4 separate regions of the Homo sapiens genome follow, and regions 1, 3 and 4 are each linked to region 2. Evidence: promoter capture Hi-C in 16 types of primary human blood cells and fetal thymus (Javierre and others, 2016). All regions are on one chromosome and are shown on one strand. The core of a region is centred on a gene start or on the middle of the fragment in contact, and the rest is flanking DNA. Distances in the headings are between cores, read along the strand shown.

Region 1 (6,456 bases), core at 2,190-4,689, 140 kb before region 2:
TACTAAAAATACAAAAAATTAGCCGGGTGTGGTGGCGGGTGCCTGTAGTCCCAGCTACTCGGGAGGCTGAGGCAGGAGAATGGCGTGAACCCAGGAGGCGGAGCTTGCAGTGAGCCGAGATTGCGCCACTGCACTGTAGCCTGGGCGAGACTCCGTCTCAAAAAAGAAAAAAAAGAATCTGGCTGGCCGGGCGGGGTGGCTCGTGCCTGTATTCCCAGCACTTTGGGAGGCCGAGGTGGGTGGATCACGAGGTCAGGAGATGGAGACCATCCTGGCTAACACGGTGAAACCCCGTCTCTACTAAAAATACAAAAAACTAGCCGGGCGTAGTGGCGGCCACCTGTAGTCCTAGCTACTCGGGAGGCTGAGGCAGGAGAATGACGTGAACCTGTGAGGGAGAGCTTGCAGTGAGCCGAGATGGTGCCACTGCACTCCAGCCTGGGTGACAGAGTGAGACTCCGTCTCAAAAAAAAAAAAAAAAAGAAAAAGAAAAAGAAAAAGAATCTGGCCTAAGAGAAATTACCATTATTTATTTTTGGTTCCCTAGAAGCATTTTTTTTTTTTTTTGGAAACAAAGCCTCACTGCCGCCCAGGTTAGACTGCAGTGGCACGATCTCGGCTCACTGCAAGCTCCGCCTCCCTGCAAGCTCCGCCTCCTGGGTTCACGCCATTCTCCTGCCTCAGCCTCCCAAGTAGCTGGGACTAAAGGCACCCGCCACCACTCCCGGCTAATTTTTTGTATTTTTAGTAGAGACGGGGTTTCACCGTGTTAGCCAGGATGGTCTCCATCTCCTGACCTCGTGATCCACCCGCCTCGGCCTCCCAAAGTGCTGGGATTACAGGCGTGAGCCACCGCGCCCGGCCTCCCTAGAAGCATTCTATGGGCATTACCAGGCACTGTACTTGCTGCCCGGGCAGAGGTATAGATAAGATGACTGCAGTGCCATTTCATTCTAGCCATCCCCTCCCCCATGGCCCACACATAATATATCATTTAACCCAAGGCCTTAACTTATAATTATTAGTATTCATCTTGGCCTGGTGTGGTGGCTCACCCTTGTAATCCCAGCAGTTTGGGAAGCCAAGGAGGGAGGATCACTTGAGGTCAGGAGTTTGAGACCAGCCTGGCCAACATGGCAAAACCCCGTCTCTACTAAAAATACAAAAATTAGCTGGGCATGGTGGTGCAGGCCTGTAATCCCAGCTGCTCAGGAGGCTGAGGCAGGAGAATCCCTTGAACCCAGGAGGCAGAGGTTGCAGTGAGCCGAGACTGAGCCACTGCACTCCAGCCTGGCAATAGAGCGAGACTCCATCTCAAGAAAAAAAAAATAGTAGTCATCTTGATGTATAAAACAATTTTAAAATTTTTTTTTTCCTTTGAGACGGAGTTCGCACTTATCACCAAGTCTGGAGTGCAATGGCATGATCTCGGCTCACTGCAAGCTCTGCCTCCCGGGTTCAAGCAATTCTCCTGTCTCAGCCTCCCAAGTAGCTGGGATTACAGGTGCCCACCACCACACCCAGCTAATTTTTGTATTTTTAGTAGAGACGGGGTTTCACCATGTTGGCCTGGTTGGTCTCGAACTCCTGACCTCAGGTGATCCACCCACCTTGGCCTCCCAAAGTGCTGGGATTACAGGAGTGAACTACTGTGCCCAGCTTAAAATGTTTTATTGTATATTTTTGAGAGTTTCACTCTGTCACCGAGGCTGGGGTGCAGTGGCATAATCTCAGCGTGAGCCCCCGTGCCCAGCCACTAATTTTGTATTTTTAGTAGAGTTGGGGTTTCGCCATGTTGGCCTGGCTGGTCTCAGTCTCCTGACCTCAGGTGATCCACCTACTTTGGGCTCCCAAAGTGATAGGATTACAGGCGTGAGCTGCTGTGCCCGGGCCTCTCAGTTCTTTAAAGGTGTCTGCAGCTCGGCACACCCAGCGACTCATGCCTGTAATCCCAGCACTTTGGGAGGCCGAGGCGGGCAGATCACGAGGTCAGGAGTTCGAGACCAGCCTGGCCAACATGGTGAAACCCCAACTCTACTAAAAATACAAAAATTAGCCAGGCTTGGTGGCAGGTGCCTGTAATCCCAGCTACTCGGGAGGCTGAGGTAGGAGAATCACTTGAACCCGGGAGGCGGAGGTTGCAGTGAGCCACGACCACACCACTGCACTCCAGCCTGGGAGACAGAGCGAGACTCCATCTCAAAATAAATAATAAAATAAAAAATAAATAAAGATGTCTGCTTTCCCTTGGAACCTGTGATGGCTACATTTTTGTTGCTATGCTAGGCCTGTAGGCTCCCCACCAAAGCTTTTTCTCTGAATTGTTCATGCCAAATCAGATTACCTTTGGAGCTGAGAGTTGCAGTCATCCCTTAGTATCCCTGGAGGATATCAAAATCCATGAATGCTCAAGTTCCTTATATAGAGAACTCTGGTGTTTGCATGTAACCTGCACACATCTTCCTGTATACTTTAAGTCATTTCCAAATTACTTATAATACCTAATACAATGTGAATGCTATGCAAATAATTGTTATACTGTATCATTTAGTGAATAAAGGGGACAAGTATATGTTCAGTTCAGACACAACTATCCATTTTTCCAAATATATATTTTGAGATAGGGTCTTTCTCTGGCACCCAGACAGGAATGCAGCAGCACAATTACACTGGCTAATTTGTTTTTGTTTTAGTTTTGTAATGACAGGGTCTCCCTAGGTTGCCTAGGCTGGTCTCAAACTCCTGGGCTCAAGTGATCCTCCCGCCTTGACCAAAGTGCTGGTATTATAGGCATGAACCACTATGGCCGGTTGCTTCCAAGTATTTTCAATCCAGTTAGTCAAATCTAGATATGGAACCCACAGATAGGGAGGGCTGACTACATTTTGTAAATTTATAGGATTTATGGGCTAAAAAAACAAAAAACAAAAAACTGGGAAAATTGTAGACTTCCCTACTTTTTTTTTTTTTGAGATGAAGTTTTGCTCTTGTTGCCCAGGCTGGAGTGCAATGGCGCAACCTCGGCTCACTGCAACCTCCGCCTGCTGGGTTCAAGCAATTCTGTTTTTGCTTTTTTTTTGAGATGGCGTCTTGCTCTGTCGCCCAGGCTGGAGTGCAGTGGCGCGATTTCTGCTCACTGCAAGCTCCGCCTCCCAGGTTCATGCCATTCTCCTGCCTCAGCCTCCCGAGTAGCTGGGACTACAGGCGCCCACCACCACACCCAGCTAATTTTTTGTATTTTTAGTAGAGACGGGGTTTCACCGTGTTAGCCAGGATGGTCTGGATCTCCTAACCCCGTGATCTGCCCGCCTCAGCCTCCCAAAGTGCTTGGGATTACAGGCATGAGCCACCACACCTGACCCAAGGTTCAAGCAATTCTGCCTCAGCCTCCTGAGTAGCTGGGATTACAGGCATGCGCCACCATGTCCGGCTAATTTTGTATTTTTAGTAGAGATGGAGTTTCTCCATGTTGGCCAGGCTGGTCTCAAACTCCTGACCTCAGGTGATCCACCCGCCTCAAGCCTCCCAAAGCGTTGGGATTACAGGCATGAGCCACTGCGCCTGGCCTCTTCTTTTTAAAAAAATGCCTCATGTATTCTTTCAGTCTTGAACCAAGAAGACATCAAGGTCTTCAGCAGCCATAATTTTCCTGTGCTTTCCGGATTTGAAATCTACGTTTTCTCCTAGGTTAAATCCTCTATTTACATTCTCTGTGCCTACAAGTCTGTTACATGTAGCCAAAATACTTGAAAGGATGTAAACCATGCCAAATGCTATAAATTATAAACTTTTATCCTAAACTTTCCAAAGTTGCCGCTTTATCCTCATGTAATGCAGTCCTCTCCCACCAATGCATATGGCTTATTGTTTAGCCTTCTTACCTAGCATGACTTTTATTGACCACCATGAGTTCTGGTCCTTTTTCCTATCACAATAGGGCTGGAAACAGCCTTTACCTCACCACCCTCAAATATTCCTAGTCAGATGTTTTTCCCAGGTCACTGTTTTGACAGGATCTGTCACCAAGGCTGGAGTGCAGTGGTACAATCACAGCTCACCACAGCCTCAATCTTGTCAGCCTCTCAAGTAGCTGGGCTTATAGGCTCACACCACCACACCCAAATTTTTTTTTGTAGATGGAGTTTCATCATGTCTCCCAGGCTGGTCTTGAATGCCTGGGATCAGAGGTGTGAGCCACCATGACCAGCCAAAGATCACTTGGAAATTTCTTAATTACACTAACAAGTTAGCAGGCCACTTTAAACAGCAGCATCTCAGTGGATATTCAAAACTTACACTTCCTATACATTACTCATTAGTAACTACCCAGTCTTACTCTGAAGAGCTAAATGAGCTTTAGATTAGCAGAATGACTTTCCCCACCCCCTATGCAAGCGTTGAGGTGGTAAACTAGTCTGAGAATCTAGGGCTCCTGCCTTTCTAGTCTGTTGAGCTCCCTTTTCCCTAGAGGTGCCTGCACAGTAAGTGGGATCCTTGACACCAGACTCTCTATACTCCAAGTATAGATGAATCTAAAAACCAAGGCACTTTTAGAAAAAAACGCAGGAAACAAAGCTTTTGATGTTAATGACTTTACTTTGAGATATGATGGAAAAATATTACAGGTACACATGGAAAAGACATGATCACCAAGTGAAAACAATCTAACCAGAAAGCTTTAACGTCTGTCAGTTAAGCTGAAGCTGAAATTCTGGGAGCATGACATGCTGCAGGGCCAAAAGGAATGGATAATTAGTATTCCTCTCCTTCTTCCTCACCCTCTCCTTCAACAGAATCCACACCAACCTCCTCATAATCCTTCTCAAGGGCAGCCATATCTTCACGGGCCTCTGAAAACTCGCCTTCCTCCATCCCCTCACCCACGTACCAGTGAACAAAGGCACGCTTGGCATACATCAGGTCAAACTTGTGGTCCAGGCGAGCCCAGGCCTCAGCAATGGCTGTGGTGTTGCTCAGCATGCACACAGCTCTCTGTACCTTGGCCAGGTCTCCACCAGGCACCACAGTGGGAGGCTGGTAGTTGATGCCAACCTTGAAGCCAGTGGGGCACCAATCCACAAACTGGATGCTGCGCTTGGTTTTGATGGTGGCAATGGCAGCATTGACATCTTTGGGAACCACGTCACCACGGTACAACAGGCAGCAAGCCATGTATTTACCATGGCGAGGGTCACATTTCACCATCTGGTTGGCTGGCTCAAAGCAAGCATTGGTGATCTCTGCTACAGAAAGCTGTTCATGGTAGGCTTTCTCAGCAGAGATGACAGGGGCATATGTGGCCAGAGGGAAGTGGATGCGGGGGTAGGGCACCAGGTTGGTCTGGAATTCTGTCAGGTCAACATTCAGGGCTCCATCAAATCTCAGGGAAGCAGTGATGGAGGACACAATCTGGCTAATAAGGCGGTTAAGGTTAGTGTAGGTTGGGCGCTCGATATCGAGGTTTCTACGACAGATGTCATAGATGGCCTCATTGTCTACCATGAAGGCACAATCAGAGTGCTCCAGGGTGGTGTGGGTGGTGAGGATGGAGTTGTAGGGCTCAACTACAGCTGTGGAAACCTGGGGTGCTGGGTAAATGGAGAACTCCAGCTTGGACTTCTTGCCATAATCAACTGAGAGACGTTCCATGAGCAGGGAGGTGAACCCAGAACCAGTTCCCCCACCAAAGCTGTGGAAAACCAAGAAGCCCTGAAGACCGGTGCACTGGTCAGCCTGTAGGGGAATAAAAAAATGTAATATTTTAATGCCAGGACACATTATCTTAGAATTTCTATTTCAACTTTTTAGATTACGAACCATATCTCACTGATGTAAGCACAAGGAATTGGCAAAACAGACATATCCACAAACTGTCCATAACCTAGGGACTATCTGATTTAGAAGTCCAATTAATATAGCAAGCAGCCTATTCCACATTTTGGTAGGTGCCAAAGAATGAATGATGTCAGTCACTCCACCCAACTTGCACTGGAACTATCACACCACATTAAATGCATATTTATATGTGGTGCTTACCAGCTTGCGAATTCGGTCCAACACAAGGTCAATGATCTCCTTGCCAATGGTGTAGTGCCCTCGGGCATAGTTATTGGCAGCATCTTCCTTGCCTGTGATGAGCTGCTCAGGGTGGAAGAGCTGGCGGTAGGTGCCAGTGCGAACTTCATCTGGAGGAGGGAGAGAAGGACGGAGGGAGTGAGTGAGTGACAAGAGAAGCCCCTGGACAGACCTCCTGTCCCAGCATCCTGGGATCTCAGGTTACTGAGGTCAACTCACCAATGACTGTGGGTTCCAAGTCTACAAACACAGCCCGGGGCACGTGCTTGCCAGCGCCCGTCTCACTGAAGAAGGTGTTGAAGGAGTCATCTCCTCCCCCAATGGTCTTGTCACTTGGCATCTGGCCATCGGGCTGGATGCCGTGTTCCAGGCAGTAGAGCT
Region 2 (6,887 bases), core at 2,431-4,930:
AGAGCCAATAACAGGCTGAGGAAGAACCTAGAATAAAAGAGACAACTGTCATTGTAGGTATTTAATCTGACTCCTATCTCTTGTGGTTTGGGGTAAATTATTTCAAGTCTCAGGACTTTATTTTCCACAGTTCCATAATAAATACCTTTGTAAAAACTCATTTATAAAAACTCTACCAAGGCACTATTGCAGTAGAAAACATTTTGTTATAAATTTCTACATAAGCACAAAATATTCCTACATCATTAATTGTATCATGTAATTTGTAACTGAACACAAACAAATACTTCAGCATTACTAGTATCTCAGCAAAGAAAACAGGAGTTAGGCTGAAAAAAAATAAGGTTCAGTTTTATCTGAATTCTTTTCTCTTTACTAATGTTTTGTGATGTTTTGTGAACATGCTATATGGTCATTTAAAGCCCAAGAAAGCTGCAGTAGGTATGCAACGCTTATTTCCCTAAAGCATTGTAAGATTACAACGAAAGCCCCATCTGTAATTATTTATCTAATGTTCTGGTGATTCTTCAGTCAAGATGTTGACTGAGGAAGCATGTTTTCTCCTTTGCTCATATTTGTAGAGCTCACATGAACCCCACAAACTTTGAGTCACACATCACAGAATGTTAGGGCTGTAAGGGCCTTACAGAGGATCCTGTCCAATCTCCTCATATTGCACATTCAAAACCTGGACCCTGAGGAGGGGAAATGTCCATCCAAAGTTATATATTAGCCAGGCGTGGTGGCTCACACCTGTGATTCCAGCACTTTGGGAGGCCAAGGCAGGAGGATTGCTTGAGCCTAGGAGTTCAAAACCAGCCTGGGAAATATAGTGGGACTTCATCTTTACAAAAAAAAAAAAAAGATTAGCCAGGCATGGTAGCACACACCTGTAGTCCCAGGTACTTGGGAGGCTGAGGCAAGAGGATTGCTTGAGCCCAAAAAGTCGAGGCTGCACCACTGCACTCCATCCAGGGTGACAGAGTGAGACCCTGTGTAAAAAAAAAAAAAAAAAAAAAAAGTTTTATAGCAAAAAAAAAAAAAAAGGCTGATCACTGAACCGTGTCTTCTGTCACCCTATTAATAATTTAGCATAGTCTGGGCAAACTGGCTCATGCCTGTAATCGCAGCATTTTGGGAGGCTGAGCCTGGTGGATCACCTGAGGTCAGGAGTTTGAAACCAGTCTGACCAACATGGTGAAACCCCATCTCTACTAAAAATACAAAAATTAGCTGGGCATGGTGGCACATGCCTGTAACCCCAGCTACTTGGGAGGCTGAGACAGGAGAATTGCTTGAACCTGGGAGGTGGAGGTTGCAGTGAGCTGACATCATGCCATTGCACTCCAGCCTGGGCAACAGAGCGAGACTCCATGTCAAAATAATAATAATAATTTAGCATATTTTTGGTGAATTCTGGAAACTGTCAACTGAAAAGTAAGTCCAGTTTCTGCCTCTCCTTACACTGTAATTTTTAGACTCATAAAGATCTGTTAACATAAAGGTTAAATGTTTAACTGTCTACCCAGGAAATTTTTCCCCAAAAAATTCCAGCAGAGGGCAGCAAATCTAAATATGGATCCCAATGCTTAAAATTAATTTAAAGTACAAGAGAATTACTCTTTTTTTTTTTTTTTTTTTTCTGAGACAGAGTCTCTGTCACTCAGGCTGGAGTACAGTGGCACGATCTCTGCTCACTGCAACCTCCACCTCCCAGGTTCAAGTAATTCTGCCTCAGCCTCCCGAGTAGTTGGGATTACAGGTGTGCACCACCATGCTCGACTAATTTTCACATTTTTTGGTAGACATGGGGTTTCACCGTGTTAGCCAGGCTGGTCTCAAACTTTTGACCTCAAGTGATCCGCCCGCCTCCCAAAGTGCCAGAATTACAGACTTGAGCCACTGCGCCAGGCCTGTTGGTTGTTTTTCTTCCCTATCCCACTCCCACTTCCCTATCTTCCCTATTCCCTCTCCATGAGGCAGAGCCATCAGTTTTGCTCACAAACATATTCCCTAAGCATCTCGGATACTGTGCTAAATATATCTGGGGAATGAATGAAAAAGTTGAAAAGCTCTACTAAGACTAAAATCTCTACACATATGTTCCACAAGGGCCATTTTGTATGTGTGAGTTGAAGTATATCTTGAACTCCTGACCTCAAGTGACCTGCCTGCCTCGGCCTCCCAAAGTGCTGGACTTACAGGCATGAGCCACCGTGCCCGGCCAGAAAATTCACTTTTGTTCCCTCAATATTTCCATAAACTCTGTATCTCCCAGAGATGGTCAAGGAATTCATGAGCTAAGATAACATGATAGAGTTGCAGAGAAACAAAAACAACAGAAATAAAAGGCGCTTCTGAGAAACCTTGGCAGAGATGGTCAGAGAGGCACATTTAGTATGACGCAGTACAAGTTAGTGTTGAAGGGTTTAATTCCTCGGAGCTCTACTTTCCTCATCTGTAAACTAGGGATAATAATTCATAGAGTTTGTCATATGGATGAAATGTGATCATGTGATATGAAAAGCCAACTACTCGGCCAGGCGCGGTGGCTCACGCCTGTATTCCCAGCACTTTGGGAGGCCGAGGCGGGCGGATCACGAGGTCAAGAGATCGAGACCATCCTAGCTAACACTGTGAAACCCCGTCTCTACTAAAAATACAAAAATTTAGCCAGGTGTGGTGGCACGCGCCTGTAGTCTCGGCTACTCAGGAGGCTGAGGCAGGAGAATCGCTTGAACCCGGGAGGCAGAGGTTGCAGTGAGCTGAGATCGCGCCACTGCACTCCAGCCTGGGTGACAGAACGAGACTCCGTCTCAAAAAAAAAAAAAAAGCCAACTACTCTGCATAGTTAGCAATCAAAAAATGTAAGCTATTCATTATCCTAATGAACTGAAAAAACTGCTTTTGCGCCTATCGGGAGGAGACTGTTAGAAGCCAAAGGCTCATTTAAAGAGGACGTAAGGAAAAGCAACCAAAAAGGTGGGAATAGAGTTTAAGGCGCGTTCGTGGTGATTCAGACCTAGAGTGGGGAGCAAGCCCTCTCTCTGGACAGCCCTCAGCGGCGAGGGGAGCGGGCGCCCGCGGGCCCAGCCGGGGTGCCCGGCAGCCAGGACTCCGAGGCGGAACCCGCAGCCTGGTCCCGGCGTCGGCGCCTCCCCGGCGGCGTAGGGAGCGCAGCCGCGGGGACCGGGGGCGAGGCCGGGGCGGTGCAGTAAGGGCTTCCCTCCTGGGCGCGGTCGCCCTCTTACCTGGAGCTTCCCCTCGCTGGGGTTTTGCCCACCTGACGCCCCCGCACCCACCGGGGACGGGGCAGACGTCCGGCCTGCTCCCTCCTCCCAGTGGACACCTCTGTCCCTGTCCCGGCCCATTCTCCAGCCCCAGAGCCCTTCCTGCCCTTCCTCCCCTTCCTCCCCTTCCTCCCCTTCCTCCCCTTCCTCCCCTTCCTCCCCTTCCTCCCCTTCCTCCTCTTCCTGCTCCTGGCTCCTTCCGACGAGTTTGGTTTGAACTTTTGAATCCGCCAATCAGCGCCGCGCGCCCCCACTCCGCGGGTGCGGCCGGGCGCAGGCCAGGGCTCGAAGGTGGGGCCGCAGCGGCACGGGGCGGGGTCTGGGGCCCGCCCTCCCGACACGTGGCCGGGGACCGGGTATATAAGGCCCTTCGGGGCCGGCCACCCTTTCACTACTTCTCCCCCGGACTCCTTGGTAGTCTGTTAGTGGGAGATCCTTGTTGCCGTCCCTTCGCCTCCTTCACCGCCGCAGACCCCTTCAAGTTCTAGTCATGGTGAGTGGGGTTCCCTCGGGGCTGGGGAAGAGTGCGCGTCCCAGGGGACGGCGGGCCCGGAAACTACTGCCTGCACCTCGGGCCGCGCCCAGGACAGCTCCAGACTACCCCGGGCCCCTCCGGTTAACCTGGCTTGTGGCGGCCGGGCTGGAAGGTCGAGTTCACTTGGCAGACACCAGTTCGGGCCGGAAAACCTGGCCCGGGTGCGGCCATCAGTGGAAATGGAAAGCCCTCTTGATCCTAGTGAGGGCTTTCCCCGCAGGGCCCGCTACTGCCCTAGGGAGGAAGGTCAGGGAGCCTGCTCATTGGCCTCCAAGAACTTAAACTAAAAATCCCTCCCCACGTTTTCTCAAGCGACCTCTCCTTCCTACTGCCTTACAAACTGGGCCCCGGAGGCCCTCGTGCGCTCCCGCACCGACGGTGCAGCACTTCCTGGCTCCCCCTCTCCAGCGCCCAGTGACTCGCTGCTGAGTCACCTGTGGCCCTGCCCTGGGGAGAGCTTCCAACTGCGCCAGTCCACTTGAGAATGGAGGCAGGCACCTCCTTGGAAGGGAATAATTAACTTTCACGTTGCCTAATCCTGCATTTCTGGTGTTAATCTAGTGGTAGGTTTATAGCTGAAGCTTTCTACTTAAGCCGGGTTTAAAAACACGTCCACAAAAGGATATTTTCTTATAAAACCAGAGTTGGCCCGGCGCAGTGGCTCACGCCTGTAATCCCAGCACTTGTTCGAGACAAACCTGGCGAACATGGTGAAACCCCGTCTCTACTTTAAAAAAAAAAAAAAACAAAAAAAAACGCTGGGCGTGGTGGCGCGCGCCGGTAATCCCAGCTACTCGGGAGGCTGAGGCAGGAAAATCGCTTGAACCCAGGAGGCGTAGGTTTCCCTGAGCCGAGATCGCGCTACTGCACTCCAGTCTGGACGACAGAGCGAAACTGTCTCAAAAAAACGCAAACCCGGCCCGGCGCGGTGGCTCACGCCTGTAATCCCAGCACTTTGGGAGGCTGAGGCTGGTGGATCACGAGATCAGGAAATCGAGACCATCCTGGCTAACACGGTGAAACCCCGTCTCTACTAAAAAAAAAAAAAAAAAAATTAGCTGGGCGTGGTGGCAGGCGCTTGTAGTCTCAGCTACTCGGGAGGCTGAGGCAGGAGAATGGCGTGAACCCGGGAGGCGGAGCTTGCAGTGAGCCGAGATCGCGCCACTGCACTCCAGCCTGGGCGACAGAGCAAGACTCCGTCCAAAAACAAAAAAAAACCCGCAAACCCCAGAGTAAACTAGTACCACGTGTTCTTAGTTCAGTTTTCAAGAAACGTGAAATTATACGTAACTTGAGTGTTTTCTATAAAGCTTCCAGAAGTATTGAAAACAACTATCTTAGGCCGGGCGCGATGGCTTATGGTTGTAATCCCAGCACTTTGGGAGTCCGAGGCGGGAGGACCGCTTGAGCTCAGGAGGTCGAGACCAGCCTGGGCAACACGGTGAAACTCCGTCTATACTAAAAATACAAAAATTATCTGGGCGTCGTGGTGCGTGCCTGTAGTCCCAGCTTCTCGGGAGGCAGGGGTGGGAGGATCTTTTGATCCCGGGAGGTGGAAGCTGCAGTGAGCCCAGATCGCACCACTGCACTCCAGCGAGACCTTATCTCAAAAATACGTACATGAATTTAAATATAAAAATCAAATGTAAATACATGTATATGTCGCACTGTAACAACTTATTGCTTCTTTTCAAGCAGTACCAAAAAGATACTGGTAAAAGTGGGATTCACAAAGTAGTGAGACCCTTTAAAAAGCAGGAGAGCGGCAGCGGACTGGTTTAGGTGAACACTGGTTAAATTTTCTTGTTTTTTAACGAGAGGTAAGAGCTGCTTATCCAGTTAACACTAGACCAATTGACTCCACCTGTGCCTCACTTTCTCCCACGTGGCCAGGGGAGAGTGGAGGGTAAGTCAGTGGCCGCTGACTGCCTGCTAAGCTTCAAGAAGGCAGTTTAGACTGAGCAATGAAAGAAAAATTGCGGGCGCAAAATAGAAACGGCATTTAAACAGAAGAAGCATTTGTTAGAATGAGTGGATCTTCTCAGATACTTTATCTCCTTGGGCCTGGGGGCCATCATGATCAGGTATCTGGTTATCTCCAGCTTTTTGGGGCTTGGGCGTTTCCAAAGTCCAGTTAAAGGTAAACATGATGCCGGGCGTGGTGGCTCCCGCCTATAATCCCAGCACTTTGGGAGGCCGAGGTGAGTAGATCACCCGAGGTCAGGAGTTCAAGACCAGCCTGGCCAACATGGTGAAACCCCATCTCTACTAAAAATACGAAAATAAGGCAGGCATGGTGGTGGGCACCTGTAATCCCAGCTACTTGGGAGGCTGAGGCAGGAAAATCGCTTGAACCTGGAAGGCGGAGTTTCCACTGCACTCCAGCCTGGGCGACAGAGCGAGACTTTTTCTCAAAAAGGTAAACATGATGCAATGGTAAATAGTCATGGGCTAATTAGAACAAACTACTCCTGTTCTCCCACACCCCTGGAGCTGGGTGAGTAGACCCAGGTGATACTGAGCTTGCTGATGTGGTTAAGAGACCTTGATTGTTTCATGGGGAGTGTAGGTGGGAAGGAGGTCAAAGGTTGTGAGTAATTAGGGTTTTTATTATCTCTTGGCTTATGAGACCAGGTCCTTTGAGAACTTAGTGCTCTGCCAGTCTCCAAAGTGGCTAATCTGACTTATGATGAAATGCCAAACACCCTTTTTGTTTTCCTGTTAAGTCTGTGTGTACAGATTCTATGTTTATTCCCTTATTTTACTTAGCAGGTGTGGGTTTGGTAATTTCTAACCATATTCTGCTTTGGCCCCTCTGGCCTTTCTAAATTAACTTGGTCCACCTCATAAATATATATCTATGAGAGAGAGACACACACACACAGACACAGACACAGAGTCTTGCCTCTGTTGCCCAGGCTGGAGTGCAGTGGCGAGATCTCTGCAACCGCCACCTCCTGGGTTTGGGTTCAAGTGATTCTCATGCCTCAGTCTTCCGAGTAGCTGGGACTACAGGCGCGCACCACCATGCCTGGCTAATTCTTGTATTTTTAGTAGAGATG
Region 3 (6,353 bases), core at 1,830-4,329, 240 kb before region 2:
GTGCTCTGATATGCCTTAGACATGCTGGTGCTGTTCAGGGTATGGGGCCTGGGAGGTGATATAATCCATGACAAGACAGCTCTCCCTCAGACCAAGTACATACCACCCACCTCCTCTGCCACCTCCTGGGATGTGCAACACACCAGTTAGGGGCGTGTGCTGCTGGCAAGCACTGGAAGTGCAGCCTTGGGAAAGGAGTAGAGGCAACTGGGTCTCAGCTCTGGTGAGGAAGCAACTAGCTACAGGGACCCTTCTGACACCCTGGGTGGCACAGAGAGCCCAGGGTGAGGGGTGGGGTGTGGAGGGAGATGGGGGGCACCAATTCCCCTACACTGAGCCTGTTCTCCCATCTCCCACTTCCTACCACTCTCCTGCCAAACCATTCTCAAGGCCATGCTCCTCTGGGAAGTTTTCCGCAAGCAGCCCAGGCCTAGAATTTAAGCTGATGGTTTGCTTGAATGTCTGAATCCTACCTCCTGCACATACTGGAAGCCCTGAAAATGGGGACTGTGCCTACCACGCTGGGCTAGATTTGAATTAAAACTGGCTGTGAACTCACAGCCTAAAGGTGGTATCCTTTCTTCGGACTGTCCCCTTCTCTGACATAACATTGGGCTCTGTGCAGATGGCTCAGTGCAGGGGAATGACGGCTGCCTGGCAGGATGCCTTTTACCACCTTAGGGCACCAGCCAAATTCTTGCCATCCCAGAGCAGTGGTTTTCAAACGTTTCTGGTTCTTTTTTTATTTAGCAGAAATCTTTGCTTTTTTCTTTAACAAAATGTTGACTGGAACTCCAATACATAAACTAGATGACAATGGAGCTCTTCTGGTTTAATCCAATTTGGGGAAGGAAGAGATATGCATGGGAAGGAAAAGTTCAACCCATCAGTTTAAGTGATCCAGGACTTTTTGGAACACAGGCACTCACAGTTTGAAAACCACCATTGCAGGGCATCAAGGACAAGGCTGGCTAGGGATGGAGAGTCTCTGACATTCTACAACAGCCTAGGAGCCACCAAAGACCTTCGAGAAAGCCCTGCTACCACAGATTCTGCCTCCCTCTACCCAGGGACTAAGGTCCCTGGTACACAGAAAGAACAAGGACCTGCAGTGAAGAAGTAAGGGTCTGGTCCCAGCTGTGTGACCTTTGCCTAGTCATTTAATCTTTCTGGGTCTCAGTTTTCTCAGCTGTAAAATGGGGGTCATACCACCTGCCCTACCTACCTCATAAGGTTGTTGTGAGGATCAAATGAGATAATGGATGTGAAAACGCTTTGAAAAAAAAAGTATAAAGTGCTATACAAATGTAAGGTTTTATTATTTTTCTATTATATCTCTAACTATTTATTTTTGACACCAACACTCATGGGGAAGGGAAGGTGACCCTAGCACCCATGGGGTATCTGAGGTTTGGGAGAATCACAGGCCCTCCCCCAGAAGTAAAACAGGAGAAGAAAGAGGTGACCAAGTCCCTTATATATTTCATAAAATTTCACCAGTTTACCCATTACCTCCCCAGGGTGCCCAAGATAATTCTGTCCTATATCCCAAGTGCATCTGAGCAGGTTGGGAGAGGAGGAAAAGGATACCCTACTAATACCTGCATGCCCTCTAATTAGGAAGTCTAAGAGTGATTCCCCATTTTCTCCACGGGAACTCTGATCTGTATCCTAAATCCTCATAATGGGACCAGAGGATCCCTGTCAACACCCACACCCACATCCCTTGGCTCCAGCATCACAAGCTCACCGTTTGTAGTGTGTGAGGATTTTAGGCTCTGATCGGGCACAGCCAGTGGGGTTGATCATGAGTGGCAGCTCCATAAGGGGGTGGCGCCCATAGCGGAATAAATAGTTTTGACAGCTCTCCACCCCGGGCAGCTGTGGGCACAGTTCATACTCACCTTAGCCTGAGTTTTTTTGGGGTTAGGCCAAAGTTCTCAGTGCCCGCCAAGCCCCCCAGCTCCCAGCCCCTTCCTTACTGATTCAGCTATGCGAAGCACGGCATGCACCGTCAGCCCAAAGAGCTCCTCGCCCTTCAGATACTCAGGGAAGAGTCGCAGCATGTCAGCCTCTTTTCTCATGGCAGCCACAGGCTCAATGATGCGATTCCACACGGCTAAGAAGCAGGGAAGAGAGCAGTCCTCAGAGGCAACTTCTGCTCACTGACCTCCAGTCCCTAACCCCAATCCAGAACTGCAGTTTTCTGAGGCCTTCAAGCCTCCCTATCATGAAGTTGTGTTGGTCTTCCAGATCCTCTCTTGGCCTCCTAGTCTCACTCTCTCTTAAGAAGCAGGAGGTTTCCAACCCCAAGGGGTCATCACAGAGCCTTGAGATACAAACCCAGGGCCCAGGAGACCCAGCATAGGCCATGGAAGGTCCCTAGTGAAAGAGCAGGCATGCTTTGGAGTTGGAAAGACTTGGGTTCAGGTTCTAGTACTGGTCATGAGACCTTGAGCCAAATACAGTCACGTGCAGCTTAACAACATTTCATTCAATGAGGAATCATATATACAACAGTGGTCTGGTAAGATTATAATACTGTACTGTATTTTTACTGTATCTTTTCTATGTCTAGATGCACATACTTACCGTATGTTACAACTGCCTACAGTATTCAGTACAGTTACATGCTGTACAGATTTGTAGCCTAGGAGCAATGGGGTATACCGCAGAGCCTAGGTGTGTAGTATGCTATGCCATCTAGGTTTGTGTAGTACACTCTATGAAGTTCACACAATGACAAAATCACCTAACAATGCATTTCTCAGAATGTATCCCTGTCATTTAGCAATGCACGACTGTACTGAAATCTGAGACTCAGTTTCTTTATGAACAAACTGGGCATAATCGTAGTATAATACTTACCTCATAGGGTTGTATGAACAAAATAAACTACACAAATCACTTAGCTTAGTTTGTGGCTCACAGTACACACTCAAAAAAAGGTACCTGCTCTTACTGTTATTTTATCATTAACACTAAAACTAAAATCAAAATAATTCTGATTTCGTCCAGGGAAAAACAACCCCAAGGAACTTGGTTAGGATTAGGTTGGGTGAGGCAGATGATAGTCTCAGAACTGTTTCCTTTTGTTCCACTGGGGATAGCAACAGAACTAGAATATGTGAGATTAGACCAGCAAAATATTTTCAACTACAAGGGAATTTAGGGTGACAAGAGAGGCTCAAACACTTTCACTGGGAGTTTTCAAGAGACCCCCTGCCTGCCTGAGGTGGGGGAAGGAGGATCATTCACATAGAAGCTACAGGTCCTCTTATAGACATTGTAACAGTGACCCTGGGAGAAACTTTTCCCATTCCATATTATCCATTTCAAGGGCCCACTGCTCACCCTGGGGAGAGGCGTCAGTGAAGACCAGGTCCTCCAGGCCCTGCTCGATGACTTTGATTACAAACTCCGGCCGCCCGTTGTTCTCACCAATAGAACAGCGATAGCAGCAGCGACGATTGTTGGTGCGGAGGCTCCAATAGATGCGCGTGGCCTCGTAGCCCACGGGATAGAGGGCAGTGGCACTATGAAAGTCAGCCATCTGGTGAGGCAGCAGCTGTCCGATGGCGTGGAACACAAGGCCCCCCACACGGAACATGTGCAGCCGTTCTCCCCGCTGAATGATGCTAGCGATTTGCTTCACCTCGTCCCGCTCAATGTAGACCCGCCGGAAGACAGCAAAAGAGCTCAGCTCTTGCTCACAGGGCCCCTTGATCTTATGCATTGGACACAGCATGGTCTTGTCCTTGAAGAACATGCACTTGGCACGGATGGCACAAGCAAAATGGTAGACATTGGGGCAACGCATGCGATTGCAGCTGCTGGTGGCACCAGTTCGCTGGCACAGGGAGCACTTGGTTAGCAGTCCTCGGTGCAGGGCAACCTCCACATTCATCAGTGCCCCGCCCTGGGTCTCATACACCTCCGTGGACCAAAGGGCACAGTTGAGGTGCACCCACAGGTCCAGGTCCAGGTTCAGCAGACGGGCAGGCCCATCAGTGGCCCCGTCACCCTCCTCATGACAGAAACAGCAGCGACGCATGTCTCGCGGTACCTTGTCAGGTCGCAAGGCTGTGCCAAGCTGCTCCATAAACTCTGCCACTTCCCGCTCATCCTCCTGCCGCCCACTGCCCTTCTGGATGGTCAGCAGCAGCCGAAGCCGCTTCCAGCGCACTCCTTTCCATTTCTTGAGGCGAGGAGGACGGGAATCTTCACCTTCTTCAGGGGGCCGGGCACGGGGCTTGGGTCGGGCTGATTCAGGGGATGAGGCCAGTGGCAGAGGTGAGGGGACGGGTGGCTCAGCCAAGGGTTCGGTGGGAAGTTCAACCAAGGGCTCAGTAGGGGGACTGGCAGGAGAAGGTGCCAAGGGGGAAGGGGGCGGGGAGGGTTCTTCAGGAGGTGGGGCCGAGAGCTGTCGCACATCCAGATTGGAGACATTGTAGGTATAGCTGTGCTGAGTGGGTGGCTCTGGGGCGGGGCTCTCCTGTAGGAGGGTGCCCTGTATCATTAGTGCCAGCTCCTCATCTAACTAGCTCCCTCCTTCCCCTCACCCATATGCCACCCTCCCAAAAGGCCTCCACATTCTTTGCCCTAGACAGCCTCTTTTTTCTTTTCTTTTCTTTTTTTTTTGAGACACAGTCTTGCTCTGTTGCCCAGGCTGGATCCAGTGGCACAATCTTGGCTCACTGCAACCTCTGCCTCCTGGGTTCAAGGGATTCTCATGCCTCAGCCTTTCGAGTAGCTGGGATTACAGGCACGCACCATCACGCCTGGCTACTGTTTTGTTTTTGTTTTTAGTAGAGACGGGGTTTCGCCATGTTGGCCAGGCTGGTCTCAAACTCCTGGCCTAAAGTGATTCACTCGCCTTGCCTCCCAAAGCACTGGGATTACAGATGTGAGCCACCGCGCCTGGCCGGCAGCCCCTTTTTTCTAACACCCACCCCTTTTTCTCCCCCAGACCTACCTGTTTCAGGAGGCTCAAGATGTCTAGTTGGCTCTTCAGGGTATAGCCAGGCAACACTGCATCAAACTGCTTCAGCCAATCAGGGCCAGTGTCTGGGCTCTTGCCTTCCAGACCCTTTTCCTTCCCACCTGCAGAAAGGAGTGGATCAGAGCCTCCCACCAGAATCACTCCCCTCAAGTCCCAAAGGGCTTCCCTGCCACACTCACCAGGACCCTCAGCTTCCCCCTTCTTTGGCTCAGTGCCTGCCCGGGCGGGGCTCTCTGGGAACAGCACCTCATAGGAGTTGGGGATCTTCATGCTCAGCAGCTCCGCCACTGCCACCATCACGCCATTCAGGTTCTGCCAGGGCCAGGGAAGGGATGGAAGAAACATATCAGCCAAGTGTCTGAGGTGAGCTCTACTACCAGCTGGGTGGGGACAAGGACACCTAGAACCCACTCCCCAGGGTAGTTCTATCCTATGTCACCCAGCTCTTTTCATACACTTCCCTCACAGCAGCCTTTCCCAAACTGCTGTGGGCACTGACGGGAGCTCCACGAAAAGGGAACTACATCAACTACGTTTAGGAAATGATGCATGCTCTATCCATGACTTGGAGGCTCATGATACACGTTAGCAAATTAAAAGGACCTGAGGACTCTTGTAGTAAAGAAACCCATATTGTCATTTTAACTGTGTTTTCCAACTTTCTTTGACCACAAAAGCCCGTTAATATTTTCAAAACAGCTGACAGAGTCCCACCAAACATGACTGGGGCAATGCTGTCATGTAGTACCTGTGTCATTACACACACAGGTGCTCCTTAGTTGTTGACTTGTCTGTCTTTACCATGGGACTACGAGCCCCGTGAGGGCAGGAACCATGATTCATTTACCCGAATCTCACAGCCTCTAGCCCAGGCTTTCACATACAATAGGTACTCAGTACATGTGCTTGAACGACTACATTTTTCCTTATCCAGACAAATTCCAGGGACTGCCCTCTGATCAGGTTCCCCTCAGCCTCGAGGTACCCCTAGGACACACCTTGGCTGCAGCAGCAGAGACTGTGAGCATGACTGACACCTCACTTCCTTTGCCCTTTTCCCAAGTTGTGACAGGCAGCTTTCCAGGGACCTCCAGGCCAAGGGCCCCATAAGGTTTGGTATCTGGGAAGACTGAATGAGAAAGAGGAATTTGTGTAACACTTGGCCGCCTCTCCCCCAGCTTCGGACAACCCAGGTGAACTGGGCCTGGCCCACATCCAGAGTAGCACATACCTGGGATGCTGGCCCGAGGAATGAGGGGGATGACAGGGGAGAGGGCCCGGTCCTCTTGCTCCCACCGGCCTGAGCCCAGATGAGGGAAACGAGGGGCCTCCTCCCCCAAGATGCTCTCAG
Region 4 (6,745 bases), core at 4,065-6,564, 250 kb after region 2:
TAACTGCATGTTAGATATCTGTATATTAATTAGAGGACTTGCTTCAAATGATAGACACAATTTGTGTTAGAGATATCAATGGGGATGCTTCAGTAACAGCTATTCTGAGCAACTAAATTATGCAAAAGCTTTAGGATAAATTGGGTGGGTGCAGTGGCTCATGCCTGTAATCCCAGGCAGGCAGATCACTTGAAGCCAGGAGTTTGAGACCAGCCTGGCAACATACCAAAACCCCATCTCTGCTAAAAATAGAAAAATTAGCTGGGCGTGGTGCCACGTGCCCATAGTCCCAGCTACTTGGGAGGCTGAGGCAGGAGAATCACTTGAACCCAGGAGGCAGAGATTGCCATGAGCCAACATCATGCTATTGTACTCCAGAGCGAGACTCCATCTCAAAAAAAAGAAAAAAAAAAAACACATCTTATAGAATAAGTCGAGCAAATGTGAACATGGTAAGGAAGTCCTGAAAAGGAAGGAAGGAAATATAGAACATTTAGTTACCAGTCTTTTTCTTTAGTAGCAGGAAGCAGTCATCCAAATCTATCTTTCATGATTGAAGAAAGGATATGGAAATTCTCAACACTGAATAAGGCCCAGGCTTAATAAGAACTAGTGTTGTTCCAAACAGGTTCCCAGCAATATTTAGCTGAATTTCATTAGCAGTTTTAGAATCTAGTCTGCCAGATGCTTGGTGCTTATTATGGCATATTTCCATTCAAGAAAGCCTTGAGAGAAGCTTAGTACCCTGAGGTATTGGAGTGAGCAAGGTAATAGAGAGTCTGAATGAGCCTTTCATCACTCTCTGGGAGGACTCATTGCTTGCCTTTCTGGCATCTAAAAACCATTACCTCACACCACAGGTACTTTTGAACCTCTTGGCCACACATACATACTGGAACCATTGTTTAGCTCAGAAACAGATGGAAAACTTTAGCTTAAGTTTCTGTGTTAAAAGTTGTGTTACAATAGATTATTGTTTTTAATTGTAAAAAATGCCTATGTTGTTATCCTTACACCTAACCTACTTTCCACTTTGAACTTGTCCCACCTTCTCCATTTATTTTGTGATGCCAACATTTCACTAACTTTTTATTATTAAAACTTTCAGATATATAGAAAAGTTGAAAGGATGGTATAATGACAGTGTATTTGCTGTGTGTGTGTATAATATTTTGGTGGAACCATTTGGAATTTGCAGATGTAGATGACATGTCACCCCTAAATGCTTTAGCATAAATAACCTAAAAATAGGTCATTCTTCTATACAACTATAATGCCATTATATAATTTACTTTTTTGATGTGCTTTTAATAAGAAATTTACTATTAAATTTTGACATTCATTTTTGTATTTTAAAGATGTAAAAATTTTAATGGAGAATTATAAGTGCTGATCAACCTTTTCTCTGAGAAATATATCAGCATCAGTTAACTAGTAGATTCTCTTGTTTAACCCTGGGCTGACATCATAGGACTTTTCACTAGATGTTATCAATAGATGGCAACATGACAAACAACAAACAAAAAGAAACAGAAGTTCTTACTGCTTTTCATTGTTTTTTGGCATGAAAACATAAGCTAATATATGTATTTTAATTTTAATTTTTGTGGGTACATGGTAGCTGGATATATTATAAGCTAGTTTTTTTTTAATGGAGGGGTTATATGGTTGTCCATGCACAGTCCTATGAATTTCTTGTGATCACCGAGTTAATCAAAAACAAAGTTTATTTAAATGAACACTAGTGATTCTCACAGGGAAAAAAAAATGCTATCAGAATGTACTAGCACAAATTTCCACAAAAAAGCCTGATTGTGTTGATGCAGACCTTGCTAAAAGTGTCATCTGACATTCTACTTCTCATAATAGATTGTAAGCTGCAAAAGGCTTACTTGTTTGCTGTAGTCTTTTAATAAATATTTTACAAGCTTTGTCAGAGAAAAAGGATTTGTCATCTGATGGACACAGCGTCTGCATCTTAAGGTGATTTGGCAACATAAGAGAGGTAATGTCAAACTGTAGGCCTGGCAGCTCCTGTCTCAGTTGTGCTTTTGTTTTGTCTTTTAGGTATTCCAATGCTGCTAGAGTTCTTGGAGCAAAATATTGCCAAGGTTTGGGAAATGCTTTCTTAGCAAAGTATTGCTACCCCACAATAATTGTATCTTCTCTCCAGTTTGATGCTTTTGGATTAATATGTCAACCAAATTTGTTTAGTTACAAGTCTGTTTATTAACATCATGCGTAACGATTATCAAACCTATGTTCTCTGGCACTTCCCTATAAAAGATTTGCTCCTTGAGGAAATGACCCTGCCTTAGACATTTTTGTATGTCTCACACTATAGTCTCCACATTAACTACTTTGTGCTAACATAACTATGTATTGAGCTAAATTGAATTAGAGCGAGAGAGAAAGAGTGTGTGTGTGTGTGTGTGTGTGTGTTTGAGTGTGATTACAACCAGAAACAAGAGTGGAACTTTTATTTACCCTGTAGTTATATTCCCCTTCAAAAGGAGAAATCAGAATGAACTCCAAATTTGAAGAAAGTTGGAACATTGCATGTTTGTGCAAGTATTAACATTCTAGATTTTTTTTTCTTTTTGCCACCACAAAGCAAAACCGATATGGTAAGGAAAATTATTTTCATCCAGAGGTTGAATACTAGGGTACTACTGTCTCCTTATACATTGAAGGCTGTGGGCTCTTTTATAACAACATGGAAAAGCTTTATGTGCCTATAAACCATTTATATTTGCAGTGGAAAAAATTCTAATTGCCTATTTAATGTTCTTTTTCTGTAAAAAGCCTACCAGAAATCTGTAATTCCATCCTTCCTAGTTACTATTATGTGTTTCTCAGAAACTAGCACACTATATGTCTATCTTTTGACTACTTTGCATTCTAAGTACTAAAATGTAAGTGGACTTGGTGCAACCATGGTCAGCTGTTGAAGACATACAAGTCCTAATCATGGATAAATTTACTATGCCCTAGTGGGGATATTGCTTGGTAAAAATTAATTAGATGCAAGGCCATCAAATTTTATAGACCAAAATATAAATATAAAAAGTATGAGTACAGGCCGGGCGCGGTGGCTCACACCTGTAATCCCAGCACTTTGGGAGGCCGAGGCGGGCGGATCACGAGGTCAGGAGATCGAGACCATTCTGGCTGACACGGTGAAACCCCATCTCTACTAAAAATACAAAAAAAATAGACGAGCGTGGTGGCGGGCGCCTGTAGTCCAAGCTACTCGGGAGGCTGAGGCAGGAGAATGGCGTGAACCCGGAAGGCGGAGCTTGCAGTGAGCCAAGATCGCGCCACTGCACTCCAGCCTAGGAGACAGCGAGACTCCGTCTCAAAAAAAAAAAAAAAAGTATGTGAGTACATACATGGTTAAGTAAGTAATTTCCACACGGACTTTTGCTTTAGCACAGCTTACTAAAAAATGTGTTTTGTAGCTTGCTACTGCCATCTGCTGGTTCTCAACTCTTAGACGTCTACAATTGGTGTACTGCTGCAATGTACCAATATTGCAATATAAAAGGGAATTGGGTCTATTTATTTTATTTATGGGAAAATCTTAAAATATTCTTTGTTGAGAGTAAGACATCAGAATTTGTATGTGATCCATACAATATTATTTTTTAGTATGCTTTTAGCAAACAAACTCACTGGTCTTTCTTTACTATTAATAATGTGCTAATTTTGTATTTGAGTTTCTGATCAAACTTTTTATTCCTTTGTCATCTTTTCCTAGTTTAATGGATCGAGAAGTGGCGTTGCTTGCTGAAATGGACAAAGTGAAAGCTGAAGCAAGTAAGATGATTGATCTTTAATTAAAGCTATTACCTTCATAAATAGTAGGTACCTACTTCCCAACCCTTATAACAAAAGTTCCATATAAATACCATAATAAGAGTTTATATATTTAAATAATCTTAAGCAGTTGCACTGTACTGGCATATGAATCCTTTCAGGTGAAATAACTTTAAAGAGCCTGTTTTAAAAATATTTCCAAATCTTAATATTTTGAATGCAGAGTTCAGTGTATAAGAGACTGCATCACGGTATCTGCCACCAGGTTTTTATTTTATTTTGTTTCTTCCTCTAGTGTTTAAGCAATTCCACTGGGATTTTTTCTACTTGGAAAAAAACCTTTAGCATAATCAGAGAAGACTTCATTAGGTTGCCTACGATTGTATGTGTATACTCCTATCATTACCTATCTCAGAACTTTCTTTGTTTTCTCAGTTTATAGAACAGTCTTCACTCAGTGTCTGTTATCAATGGGTAGGGGAAAAGTTAGAGAATTGAGGGTTCAAGATACCAGGTTTCTTGAAAGCTTACTAAAATAGATTCTGGAGGAATGAAGTCTAACTTTGGTGATTTGTGGGGTTTTGTACAGAAAAAACAGATACCTATTTTTTGATCATTTCTGTTAAGTGTTAGGTTAAACATACACAGCTACACGAAGACAAGGGAATACCAACTGCAACTTGTACAATGGCATTGATTTGAGGCATTTCGGTGGCAGGTTTTATCTTCCTGCATTGAACGCCAGATTAATTATTAGGAAAGTTGTTTATTTTAACCCACCCCCAAACTGGTAAGAATAGAAATGCTGGGCTAGGTCGAGATCATGACTCACAGTTAAATCACTTGTGTGTGTGGTCACGGGCCAGAGGATGCAGCTTTGAAGCACTGAAATGACTTCAGCTTTGGTCCATTTTAACTTGAAAATTTGAGAATGTAGCAGAGATGCCTTCCACTGTTTTTCAGAGGTGAGATTTCATTACATTGAGCAATATATTTTGAGTTTCTAAATTTGACATTTCAGTCCATTATTTTATCTGTATATTCTCTTTTTGAAAATGGAAATGCAGATAAACTAAAACCACTAAGAAGACATATTTCTTAGTTTTGAGAAGAAGGTCCTTTTAGGCCAGGCGTGGTGGCTCACGCATATAATCCCAGCACTTTGGGCGGATCACCTGAGCCCAGGAGTTTGAGACCAGCCTAGGCAACATAGTGAAACCTCGTCTCTACAAAAAATAAGAAATAAGGCTGGGCGCAGTGGCTCATGCCTGTAATTCCAGCACTTTGGGAGGCTGAGGCGGGCAGATCACGAGGTCAGGAGATCGAGGCCATCCTGGCCAACATGATAAAACCCCGTCTCTACTAAAAATACAAAAATTAGCTGGGCATGGTGGCACACGCCTGTAGTCCCAGCTACTCGGGAGGCTGAGGCAGGAGAATCACTTGAACCCAGGGGGCAGAGGTTGCAGTGAGCCGAGATTGCGCCACTGCACTCCAGCCTGGCAACAGAGCAAGACTCCATCTCAAAAAAAAAAAAAAAAAAAAAAAAAAAAATATATATATATATATATATATATATATATATATATATATATAAATCAGGCATGGGGTCATGTGCTACATGTAGTCCTAGTTAGTTGAGAGGCTGAGGTGGAAGGATCACTTGAGCCCAGGAGGTCGAGGCTGCAGTGAGCTGTGATTGCACCACTGTACTCCAGCCTGGGCGATAGAGCAAGACCCTGTCTTGAAATTAAAAAAAAAGAAGGTGCTTTTAAGAATATTAATACATCTTTTATATTAATAGAAAATTTTGGCCGGGTGCAGTGGGTCACGCCTGTAATCCCAGCACTCTGGGAGGCCGAGGCGGGCTGATCACGAGGTCAAGAGATCAAGACCATCCTGGCCAACATGGTGAAACCCTGTCTCTACTAAAAATACAAAAATTAGCTGGGCATGGTGGCATGCGCCTGTAGTCCCAGCTACTCGGGAGGCTGAGGCAGGAGAATCACTTGAACCCAGGGGGCAGAGGTTGCAGTGAGCCGAGATTGCGCCACTGCACTCCAGCCTAGCGACAGAGCAAGACTCCATCTCAAAACTAAAAAAAAAAAAAGAAAAGAAAAGAAAATTTCAGATAGCGAGGCTAATGTAACAAATTCCCATCACTCAGCTTCAACCAATTATCAATTTGTGGCCAATCTTATTTTATCAAATTCAGAGCTCAAAGTTTTACTTAACTTCATCAGTTTTATATCTTTAGCTCTTTTCTCCCTGAAAATCCTGGTTCTCAATGATATTACTCATTTACCAATGCTATCAAGAGTAATTACTCATTTACCAGTGCTATCAAGAGTTGCTTTTTGTTTTTTACATATTATAATTTTATTAAGTAACTGATAGGTTTGTAGTATTTCAATCTTTTCCAGTGTTGTATAATTAGGTCCTATGAGTTATCTGTTACGTGTAGAAAGCTTTTTATTCACCTCATTTTTGCCATTTTGAGAGCTATAATTTTGTCATAGAATCACTGAATGCTAGAGCTGAGAGAAACTGAAGTTGATACAAATGGCAAATAGGTTTTATCTTGGGACCTAAACCAATAGATCATTTGTAACTGTTGGGCTTTGGCGTTAAGAAACTTTTGTAGGCATGCTCCTGACTCCTGAGAAAGTGGGCCCTGATTGATTAGTGTGACTTGGGTCTAGGCAGCCCATGTGTGCATCTCTGTGGCAGTTGGGCTGAGTAAACTTGCTAAATACATCCAGCTCTCTGTAATACCTGGTGTAACTCTTTAAAACTTCTGTTTTTTTCTGACGTGAATTTGGCTAATTCCTCAGTGTGTTACAGGATTCTATGTATATCAGTTAGGGATTGAGTTTGACTACATGGAACAGAGTGGCCTAAATAAATGTGAGTGTCCTTTTTTCTC

The links. Contacts are between HindIII fragments. The CHiCAGO score rates a contact against its expected background, and 5 or more counts as called.
Region 1: a fragment that was not itself captured here is called in contact with the fragment with the promoter of TUBA1C in region 2 in 1 of 17 cell types (monocytes); the score reaches 5.1 in monocytes.
Region 3: a fragment that was not itself captured here is called in contact with the fragment with the promoter of TUBA1C in region 2 in 1 of 17 cell types (monocytes); the score reaches 5.9 in monocytes.
Region 4: a fragment that was not itself captured here is called in contact with the fragment with the promoter of TUBA1C in region 2 in 8 of 17 cell types (total B cells, total CD8 T cells, M2 macrophages and 5 more); the score reaches 6.9 in total B cells.

What each region holds. Positions count from the first base shown.
Region 1 is chr12:49,123,206-49,129,661 of GRCh38, forward strand. TUBA1B (tubulin alpha 1b) reads right to left here. Exons shown (of 4, transcript NM_006082.3): 2 at 6,295-6,456; 3 at 6,037-6,185; 4 at 4,577-5,733. The coding sequence ends at 4,753. Among named protein-coding and RNA genes, the nearest start is that of TUBA1B, 5.0 kb to the right of the region's middle. RefSeq lists enhancers at 4,473-4,974, 4,975-5,474. The HindIII fragment of the contact is 2,267 bases long and covers 2,307-4,573 here.
Region 2 is chr12:49,261,402-49,268,288 of GRCh38, forward strand. TUBA1C (tubulin alpha 1c) reads left to right here and starts at 3,681. Exons shown (of 4, transcript NM_032704.5): 1 at 3,681-3,783. The coding sequence starts at 3,781. RefSeq lists silencers at 3,003-3,442, 3,483-3,742, 4,097-4,310 and an enhancer at 3,873-4,032. The HindIII fragment of the contact is 8,287 bases long and covers 1-4,404 here.
Region 3 is chr12:49,022,828-49,029,180 of GRCh38, forward strand. It overlaps KMT2D (lysine methyltransferase 2D), which reads right to left. Exons shown (of 55, transcript NM_003482.4): 45 at 6,234-6,353; 46 at 6,001-6,131; 47 at 5,182-5,314; 48 at 4,976-5,103; 49 at 3,355-4,495; 50 at 1,983-2,119; 51 at 1,751-1,881; 52 at 1-48. Among named protein-coding and RNA genes, the nearest start is that of PRKAG1, 7.2 kb to the left of the region's middle. The HindIII fragment of the contact is 8,267 bases long and covers 1-6,353 here.
Region 4 is chr12:49,510,795-49,517,539 of GRCh38, forward strand. It overlaps SPATS2 (spermatogenesis associated serine rich 2), which reads left to right. Exons shown (of 14, transcript NM_023071.4): 10 at 3,761-3,819. Among named protein-coding and RNA genes, the nearest start is that of KCNH3, 25 kb to the right of the region's middle. RefSeq lists a silencer at 3,033-3,211. The HindIII fragment of the contact is 1,942 bases long and covers 4,344-6,285 here.